Linked DNA regions of Homo sapiens: region 2 is linked to region 1. Evidence: promoter capture Hi-C in 16 types of primary human blood cells and fetal thymus (Javierre and others, 2016). All regions are on one chromosome and are shown on one strand. Each heading gives the region's core, a stretch centred on a gene start or on the middle of the fragment in contact. The rest is flanking DNA. Distances are from core to core; before and after follow the strand shown. Region 1 holds the start of APH1B (aph-1B gamma-secretase subunit). Region 2 overlaps USP3 (ubiquitin specific peptidase 3).

What was found. The method cuts DNA at HindIII sites, captures the fragments that hold promoters and counts their contacts. A CHiCAGO score of 5 or more calls a contact.
Region 2: a fragment that was not itself captured here is called in contact with the fragment with the promoter of APH1B in region 1 in 1 of 17 cell types (neutrophils); the score reaches 7.4 in neutrophils.

Annotation. Positions count from the first base shown.
Region 1 is chr15:63,275,336-63,279,897 of GRCh38, forward strand. It overlaps APH1B (aph-1B gamma-secretase subunit), which reads left to right and starts at 2,270. Exons shown (of 6, transcript NM_031301.4): 1 at 2,270-2,401; 2 at 3,826-3,996. The coding sequence starts at 2,289. LOC124903504 (a long non-coding RNA gene) reads left to right here. Exons shown (of 2, transcript XR_007064674.1): 1 at 1-27; 2 at 683-1,517. RefSeq lists silencers at 1,797-2,216, 2,297-2,576. The HindIII fragment of the contact is 9,433 bases long and covers 1-3,229 here.
Region 2 is chr15:63,577,584-63,582,145 of GRCh38, forward strand. The region is part of intron 11 of USP3 (ubiquitin specific peptidase 3); the gene reads left to right. Among named protein-coding and RNA genes, the nearest start is that of FBXL22, 18 kb to the right of the region's middle. The HindIII fragment of the contact is 5,059 bases long and covers 1-4,497 here.

The DNA.
Region 1 (4,562 bases), core at 1,020-3,519:
CTTGTTCTGGCTTTACTAGCTATCTAGGTAATTCTATTCTATATACTCTCACGGCTTCAGGTATTCTGGTCTCAGCTCTGATGTTCAGTCCATTTCTCTCCTGATCCTGTATATGTAGTTGCCTACTGAACACCTCCATTTGGAGTGCTACAAGTATCTCAGTCTCAAGGCATCCAAAATGAAGGCCAGGCACGGTGGCTCATGCCTGTAATCCCAGCACTTTGGGAGGCCGAGGTGGGCAAGTCACTTGAGGCCAGGAGTTCGAGACTGGCCTGGCCAACATTGTTCACACTGTCTCTACTAAAATACGAAAATAACCCAGGCATGGTGGCGCGTGCCTATAGTCCCAGCTACTCTGGAGGCTGAGGCAGGATAATTGCTTGAACTCGGGAGGCAGAGGTTGCAGTGAGCTGAGATCACACCACTGCACTCCAGCCTGGGCGACAGAGTGAGACTATGTCTCCAAAACAGTAACAACAAAATAACAAAATGGTACTCATTATCGTGTCTACTTTGCCATATTCTCTCCTCCTCCTGTCTCCACAGCATCCACTTAAGCCCGAACCCTCTAGAAGCCCTCATCCTTGACTCTTCCCCCATCTCACTCTATGTAGCTCATTAGTCACTAAATTCTGTTTGTACAATTCCTAAACTTCTATTAAATTTGTCTGCTTCCCTCCAGAGTCCTGCTAATTCCCTGAATCAGGCCACTGCCATCTCATGCCTGCGTTGCACTGAGGACCTCCAGTCTGGAAGCTCATTTTCCATATCTTTACAAAGCAGATCTATCACTCTGAACTGTTGTCTCGACCCGAGTTTTGATAGGTATTGTGCTGGGATCTGACCATTCAAAATACAATCACTGGAATCTGAAGAAGTATTCTGTGGGAGTGAATGGAAATATATATGACTTTTAAATGGGCAAAGGTAATGTTTTTCTGTAAGAATTAAATACCTGCAGTTGTATTATTTGAAGGTGCATTTTCAGGGGCGAGCTGCAAAACATCTGTCAGGTCCCAACATTTGTCTACTGGTGTTTTTTTAAATGTGGATTGCCAAAATCTTTATTCATGATGGACATTATGTAGGAGTGGTTAATACTTACATAGCACTTACCTGTGTCAGGCACACTGATCAAAATAACCGACGAAGTATTATTCAACATAAAGAAAAATCTAACTTGGATGTGAATGATCAGAGAACTTAAGTTTTAATTTTTAAACCTTTCAGAAATTGTTAATATAGATGTTTATAACTTCCACCTTTTAAATTATTTCACTTATTGAACAGATATTAGTGAACTTCTAGGTGCTGAGGAAACAACAAAGAGCAAAGCAAAGTCCCTGTCCCCCAGGAGTTCGCGTTTTAACGGGGAAGAAAAATAAGCAAGTGAAATGGACGACTGTGAGAAGACGGAGCAGGGAGATGTTACTATTGCTTGTAGGGTGGTCACAGAATGCCTGCAAAAACAACCCTTTTGAAGAATTGGGAAAAAAATAAAAACCATTTGGCTGAAACAGCCCTGAGAAGGGCAGCTTCTTCCACCACTCTTTCATCATTTTACCATCTGTGGGTTATCCCCGGGGTCACTGCTATCCCAGCCTAGGTTTTATACAGGATGGAGTACGAAGTTCCCGCAACTATCCAAACGGTAAAATGTGCTTAAAAAAAAAAAAAAACCTATTTAAAAAGGAATCCTGCTTGTTCCTGCGCTACATTTTTGTTTAGTCTCTTTGGTTGACTTGGAATCTCTGCCTGTTCTCGGTGCATGCGGCTCGAAGGTGGGCTAGGGAGCTTCCCTTCTCTTAACCACCTCGCGGCCGGCACTGGAACCCGATCGGAGTGTATCTGTGGGGCTGCGGCGATGGCTGGGGCCCTAACGTCGCCGAGGACGCCCGCCTCGGGAGCAGGAGCTGCGGCGTGGCCCTGGCGCTTCCGGACACCCGGTAGGGCGGAGGGCCCAACGGTGGGGTCCGCGCTCACCGCCTTGAGCCCGCCCCTGCGCCCGGCGCCCTCAGCCCACGCCCCGCCCAGTCCCCCAGGCCCTAGCGTTTACCCCCACGCCCCGCCTCGCCCCGCGACCCACGTACCCCGCCTCCGAGCCCCGCCCCCGCCCCCACGTGCCCCGCCCCCGAGCCCCGCCCCCGTCCCCGTGCCTGCCCATGAGCCGCGCCCCGCCCCCCGCGTCCCGCTTAGCCCCCCACCCCGAGCCCCACCCACCGAACCCCGCCCGCGCCGGGAGCATCTCGCGTCCCCAACGGGCCCCCGGGTCGGTTTCCGCGGTGGCCATGACTGCGGCCGTGTTCTTCGGCTGCGCCTTCATTGCCTTCGGGCCTGCGCTCGCCCTTTATGTCTTCACCATCGCCACCGAGCCGTTGCGTATCATCTTCCTCATCGCCGGGTGAGGCGGTCGCGTCGGGAAACCCGGACGCCGGGGCTCCCCTCCCCCGCTGGGGTTACCCGCGACCCTCGGCGCCCCCACCGCGCGGCTCGACCTTGTTGCGTTTCAGACGGGAGGAGGGTTGAGAGGGGGAGAGCGGAGATCCGGCTCCCCAAAGGCGCCTCGCCCTCTTAGGAAGAAGCGCACACTGGGGGTCAGGGCCTTTTGCCTGGGGCTCATGGGTGGGGTTTAGTGATCCGTGAAGCTACTAAAGTTGTATAAAAAAATTATGGATAAGTTCATATATGCATCCTTCATTTTCTGGAGGGGGAGTCCCTAATTTCCCTCAGATTCTCAAAGGCATGTGTAATCCCCAAAGGGTTAAAAACCATTGGCGTTTAGGATAGTAGTGCGCGACTTCCGCCTATTAGAATCACCTGTGGCCAGGTGCTTTAAAACATGCCGATGCCCACCCCCACCCCGATCCATTGAATCAGAATGTCTAGGGGATGGGATTCGGGCTTCAGAAAAAAAAAAAAAAATTTAAGCTCCTTTTGGATGGTTCCGTTGTGCAGCCGAAGGGTGGAAACCTGTAAAAACACCGAAGCACCTGACTGTGCGTCTCCTTCTGGGAGCTTGGTAAATACCGGACTCTGGTGTCCCATCGCAGTCATCACCTGCCTCTTACTTGCACATACCACATCCCCCCTCCTCTGATGAGTCTCTCTTGGCACCAGACTAGGCCAATGATTCCCGCTTTTCTGCGTTTCTTCACCTCCCACAAACGTATTGAAAGTGCTTCGCTGCATGTCATTTTAAAAATAATAGAGATTTGGGAAGGGTCTGTAAAGCTTGCTATAATCATTAGAATCCCCAGGGGTGCTGTAAGACCTGGAGGGCTTGGATACTGATCCAGATCAGAACACAGGTTTTCAAGTTGAATTTTATACCAGTCACTTTATTAATAGAGATGTAGATATTTTTCTGGAAAAGATACTCATCTTTGCAGATATCTGATCAGTAAATCCATAATTTCTTGTAAGTTTTAAGAATATGAAAATTGCAGTAATCAGGGTTGTGTATTTTCTTGTTTTGGCTCATCAATGGGCAGAGCATTGATTAGAAAGAGTAGCAAATAACCAAGTTTCTAGCTAGATAGTCCTTGGCAGATAGAGTCTGCAGATGTACTTGCAAGTAGCAGGGTCATTGAAAAAAGTAATTGTTGGGAAACCTCAGCCTTCCTCTTGGACACGTTTGTCTCACCAAGGAAAATGCACCGTTAAGAACAACTGATCAGAGTATCACTTTATGAGGACTTTCTTTTCCTTATTGAAACGTCAAGAAATCTCTTCCTTCTCAAGCAGGTTTTTTTTTTTTTCCTGCTTTTAAACATTATTAATCCTGTACTGATGTTCACTTGTAACTTTTTTTCCCGTATTTTTCAGAGCTTTCTTCTGGTTGGTGTCTCTACTGATTTCGTCCCTTGTTTGGTTCATGGCAAGAGTCATTATTGACAACAAAGATGGACCAACACAGAAATATCTGCTGATCTTTGGAGCGTTTGTCTCTGTCTATATCCAAGAAATGTTCCGATTTGCATATTATAAACTCTTAAAGTAAGTTAAATACCTGCCTTACCTTTTTTTTCCCCAGTTAGATTTTAGTTATGATTTGGTCATTTGAAACGTGAATATAGTATTGTATCTATGCCCTCCTACATAGTACTAAGCCAAGAGATTGGTACATTTCCAGCCTGAAAATCTTGAGTGTTCTTTTATCTTGTGGAAATTTCTTATTTCCTTCCTTTCTTCCTTTATTCAAAAAAATATTTCTTGAGAATCAATCCCAGACACTATCCTAGGTACTGGGGATACATCAGTGATTAAAAGACAGAGTCTCTGGCTTCATGGAGCTTATATTATAGTAGGAAGAGACAGACAATAAATGAATGAACAAGAAATACACTGGTATAGTAGGTAAGTGTCATGGAGACAAACAAGCTAGGGAAGCATTAAAACAACTACAGAAATCATTCCAGCTTAGAATGTATATGTTCTCTTTGCCACCACCTAAGTTAATTCTTTTTTTTTTTTTTTTTGAGACAGAGTTTTCGCTCCTGTTGCCCAGGCTGGAGTGCAATGGTGCAATCTCAGCTCACGGCAACCTCTGCCTCCTGGGTTCA
Region 2 (4,562 bases), core at 718-3,217, 300 kb after region 1:
TCTACTAAAAATACAAAAATTAGCTGGGCATGGTGGGGAGTACCTGTAACCCCAGCTATTTGGGAGGCTGACCCAGGAGAATAGCTTGAACCAGGGAGTCAGAGGTTGCAGTGAGCTGAAATCGTGCAACCGCACTCCAGCCTGGTGACAGAGCGAGACTCCGTCTCAAAATAAATAAATAAAATAATAAGAAAAATTAACTGGGCATGGTGGTATATGCCTATAATCCCAGCTTCTTGGGAGGCTTAGGCAAGGAGGATCACTTGAGCCCAGGAGTTGGAGGCTGCATTGAGCCTGCACTGCTCCTGTACTCTAGGCCTGGGTGAGAGAGTGAGACCCTGCCTCAAAAAAAAAAAAAAAAAAGTCCAAATAGATACTGATAAAATCCCAAATATATTACTGATTAAAAGGAGAAGAAAGGGGTGGGTGCAGTGTAGTCCCAGCACTTTGGGAGGCCAAGACGGGCAGATCACTTGAGGCTAGGAGTTCGAGACCAGCCCTGGCCAACATGGAGAAACCCCATCTCTACTAAAAATACAAAAATTAGCCAGGTACGGTGGCATGTGCCTGTAGTCCCAGCTCCTCGGGAGGCCAAGGCAGAATAATGGCTTGAACCGGGGAGGGAGGTTGCAGTGAGCCGAGATCGTGCCACTGCACTCCAGCCTGGACAACACAGTGACACTCTGTCTCAAAAACAAAGAAAAGAAAAAACTTTTATTAGGAATAGAAATGTTAACTTGGCCAGGCGTGGTGGCTGAAGCCTGTAATCCCAGCACTTTGGGAGGCCGAGGCGGGTGGATCACGAGGTCAGGAGATAGAGACCATCCTGGCTAACACGGTGAAACCCCGTCTCTACTAAAAATACAAAAAAAAAAAAAATTAGCTGGGCATGGTGGCAGGCATCTGTAGTCCCACCTACTCAGGAGGCTGAGGCAGGAGAATGGTGTGAACCCGGGAGGCAGAGCTTGCAGTGAGCCGAGACGGCGCCACTGCACTCTAGCCTGGGCGACAGAGCAAGACTCCGTCTCAGAAAAAAAAAAAAAAAGAAGAAAAAAAAAAGAAATGTTAACTTGATGACAATTATTCATTAAAAGCTATCAGTGATCATCATAGTTAATGGTGAAGCACTGATGATTTTCCAGTAAGGCCAGGAATAAGCCAGGAGGCCTACTGAAATATTGCTCAGATGTCTTCTGGAGGAACAAGGCAATAAACTAGGAAAAGAAATAAGAATAAATTATAGAATGACCAAATTATTAACATTTGCAGGCAGATTGATTATATACCTAGAACATTTCAGGATAATCAGTTGGAAAATTACGAGAAATATTAACAACTATTGCCATGGAGAGTGAGACTAGGCAGGAGGACACCTGCTTTTCTAGAAGCCCTCAATTTTTAAAAAATCAAACACAAGTAATACTTTGATAAATATATTATAAACATGGAGCTAAAAAGTTCAGGCAAAAAGCCAGCTGGCTTTCTGTATGTAGCAAAATAATCTATTCACAGTAGCAATAAAAACTCAAAAGTACTTAATAAATTTAATAAGGAATATGCAATACTTTAATAAAACATTATAAAAGGACAGATAAAGCCTGAATAAAAAGAGCCACATCATATTCTTGGATGGGAAGACCCAATATGGTAGAAATGTCCATTTTCTCCCAAATTACTCCCTACATTTATTCTGATTTATTCAAAAATTCCTCTGTACGCAGAAATTCTCAAGAAGAGCTAAAGAAGTTTCTAAAATGAAAGTAAGGTAGAAACATAGCAGTGGGATAGGAAATGTCCTAGAACTACTAATATAGAGCAGGTGCTAATGTAAAATATTTATGCAAATTTACAATATGCCAAAGAATGTCAAATCAGTGGGACGAATAAGAAATTAGGCAATAAATGGTGTTAGTGTAAATGAAAATTAATTTGGGAAAACATTAATTTCCTCCCTGCCTCATATCCTTTCCCTGATTAATTTGAGGTTTCAATATTTAAATGTGAAACATAAAACCACAGGACACTATAGGAAAGCATCTTTATTATGATCTTGTCATAGGGGAGAGCTTTCTAAGCCAGAACCTATAATGGGAAACGTTTCATAAATTTAATTGAGCAATGGTAAAAGACCATAAACAAAGTGGAAAAGAGATGATAAACTTGAGACAAATATTTGGACATATATGAAAAAGGTGACTTGGGCAGAGTACATGAGTAAGATATAAATGATCATTATAACATCTAAAAAGTGTTAATCCTCACTTATATTCAAGAAAATGTAAGTAAAACAAGATTGGTGAAAAGGGTAAAGATGGATGTCAGTGGAAGAGGACACTCGTGTTGTTGTTATAAGTCTAAATTGGCATGGTTGTTTTTGGAGGTAGTGATCACCATTTTTAATAGGCATTTCCTTAGACATACTAATTTCACTTACAAGGGTGGACAATAGTATGTGTAAAAGATTTTAAACACTTTGTTATTGAAAAAAATCAAACAATTTAAATGTCCACCAGTAGGGCACTGGTTTAATAAATTGCATTATGTGGCAATTAAGAAAGATAAAGTTGACCAGTAACTATGCCATAGAAACATAGCTACAAAATATTGTGTAGTAAAAAACTGTCCATGGAAATATGTGTGTGGAATAATTCCATTTGTGTAAGATAAAAAACATTTATATGAGTGTTAAAATTCTTAAACAGCATACACTGTGCTGTTCACAGTGATTATCTCAGGGAAGTGGGATTCAGGAGGGAAATGGAACTATGAATTATTTTTTTCATTTGTTTTAACCGATGTGTGTCACCTTTATAATACCTATTTGGGGGATAGTAAAAAATGCATATTAACTTAATGTATACTTCCAAACTACTGCTTTGCTAAATTAAATTTATATAGTATATAAAGTTGACCTAATAACTAACTTCAACAAACCAGCTTTATTTCCTGCTTTCCATAGAGATGCTGTTTTAACAGTTTATATCATGTGGAAGACTGACGGTTGTGAAATACATGCCCTGAAATCTTTGAGAATCTTAAGAGTTTCAGAAAGTGGTGCATATATATATGAATATATAATATATATATGAATATATAATATATATGCATATATACTTATTTTAATATTTATATAAATATATATTTTTTCTTTTAGGAAATGCAGTAAAGTACAAATGAAATATTAAGCAGCTTCCTCAGATCCTTACTGAAATGTGAACACTGGATAGCTAGTAGACTCTTTTTGAGATGGAGTCTTGCTCTGTCACCCAGGCTGGAGTGCAGTGGCACAATCTTGGCTCACTGCAACCTCCACTTCCCAGGTTCAAGCGATTCTCCTGCCTCAGCCTCCCGAGTAGCTGGGATTGCAGGCACGAGCCACCATGCCCAGCTAATTTTTGTACTTAATAGAGATGGGGTTCACCATGTTGGCCAGGCTGGTCTCAGACTCCTGACCTCGAGTGATCTGCCTGCCTCGGCCTCCCAAAATGCTGGGATGACAGGCGTGAGCCACCGTGCCTGGCTGCTAATAGACTCTTTACAGGCCATATAATTCACTTCCACATGTGAGCTCTGAGGTGAAATTCACACTCATGCTGCTGCAAAATATTAAACTGAGGTACATTTCAGGGTCATTCAGGCTTTTCAAATAGTTAAAATAGCAGTTGCCAAATCTGTGAATGTTAAGGGTATGTTGTATCTAGATAGTCTTCCCCTTAAAGAAATATATTTCCATGTGTTTATATGTATGTTTGTGTTGGTTTTTGTGTGTGTGTGTGTGTGTGTGTGTGTGTGTGTGTGTGTGTGTGTGTGTGTGTGTTTAGATGGAGTCTTGCTCTGTTGCCCAGGCTAGAGTGCAGCGGTGCAATCTTGGCTCACTGCAACCTCTGCCTCCGGGTTCAAGCGATTCTTCTGCCTAAGCCTCCTGAGTAGCTGGGACTACAGGTGTGCAGCCACCACACCCGGCTAATTTTTTTTTTTTTTTTTTTTTTGGATTTTTGGTATAGACAGGGTTTCACCATATTGGTCTGGTCTCAAACTCCTGACCTCATGATCCACCTGCCTCGGCCTCCCAAAGTGCTGGGATTACAGGTGTGAGCCACTGTGCCCGGCCCATATGTTTGTTTTTTAAAAGACAGGGTCTCACTCTGTTGCCCAGGCTAGAGTGCAGTGGTGGGATCATGGCTCACTGCAGCTTCAACCTCTTAGTCTGAGGTGATCCTCCCACCTCAGTCTCCTGGGACTACAGGCACATGCTGCAATGCTTGTGTTTTTTGTATTTTTTGTAGACACAGGGTTTCACCCTTTTGCCCAGGCTGGTCTTGAATTCCTAGGCTCAAATGATCCTCCACCTCAGCCTCCCAAAGTGCTGGGATTACAGGCGTGAGCCACTATGCCTGGCCTGTATGTTTTAATAATGGTTTTCTTTATACATATGTTTATTGAAGAATTTGGAGAAAACTCAAAAAAGTAAAAAGAGGAACATATACATCCCTTATAAGCTTATCATTCAGACATACTGTAGTTCAGAAATTTTATGTTTAGAAACTGTGATTTAAAAGTTG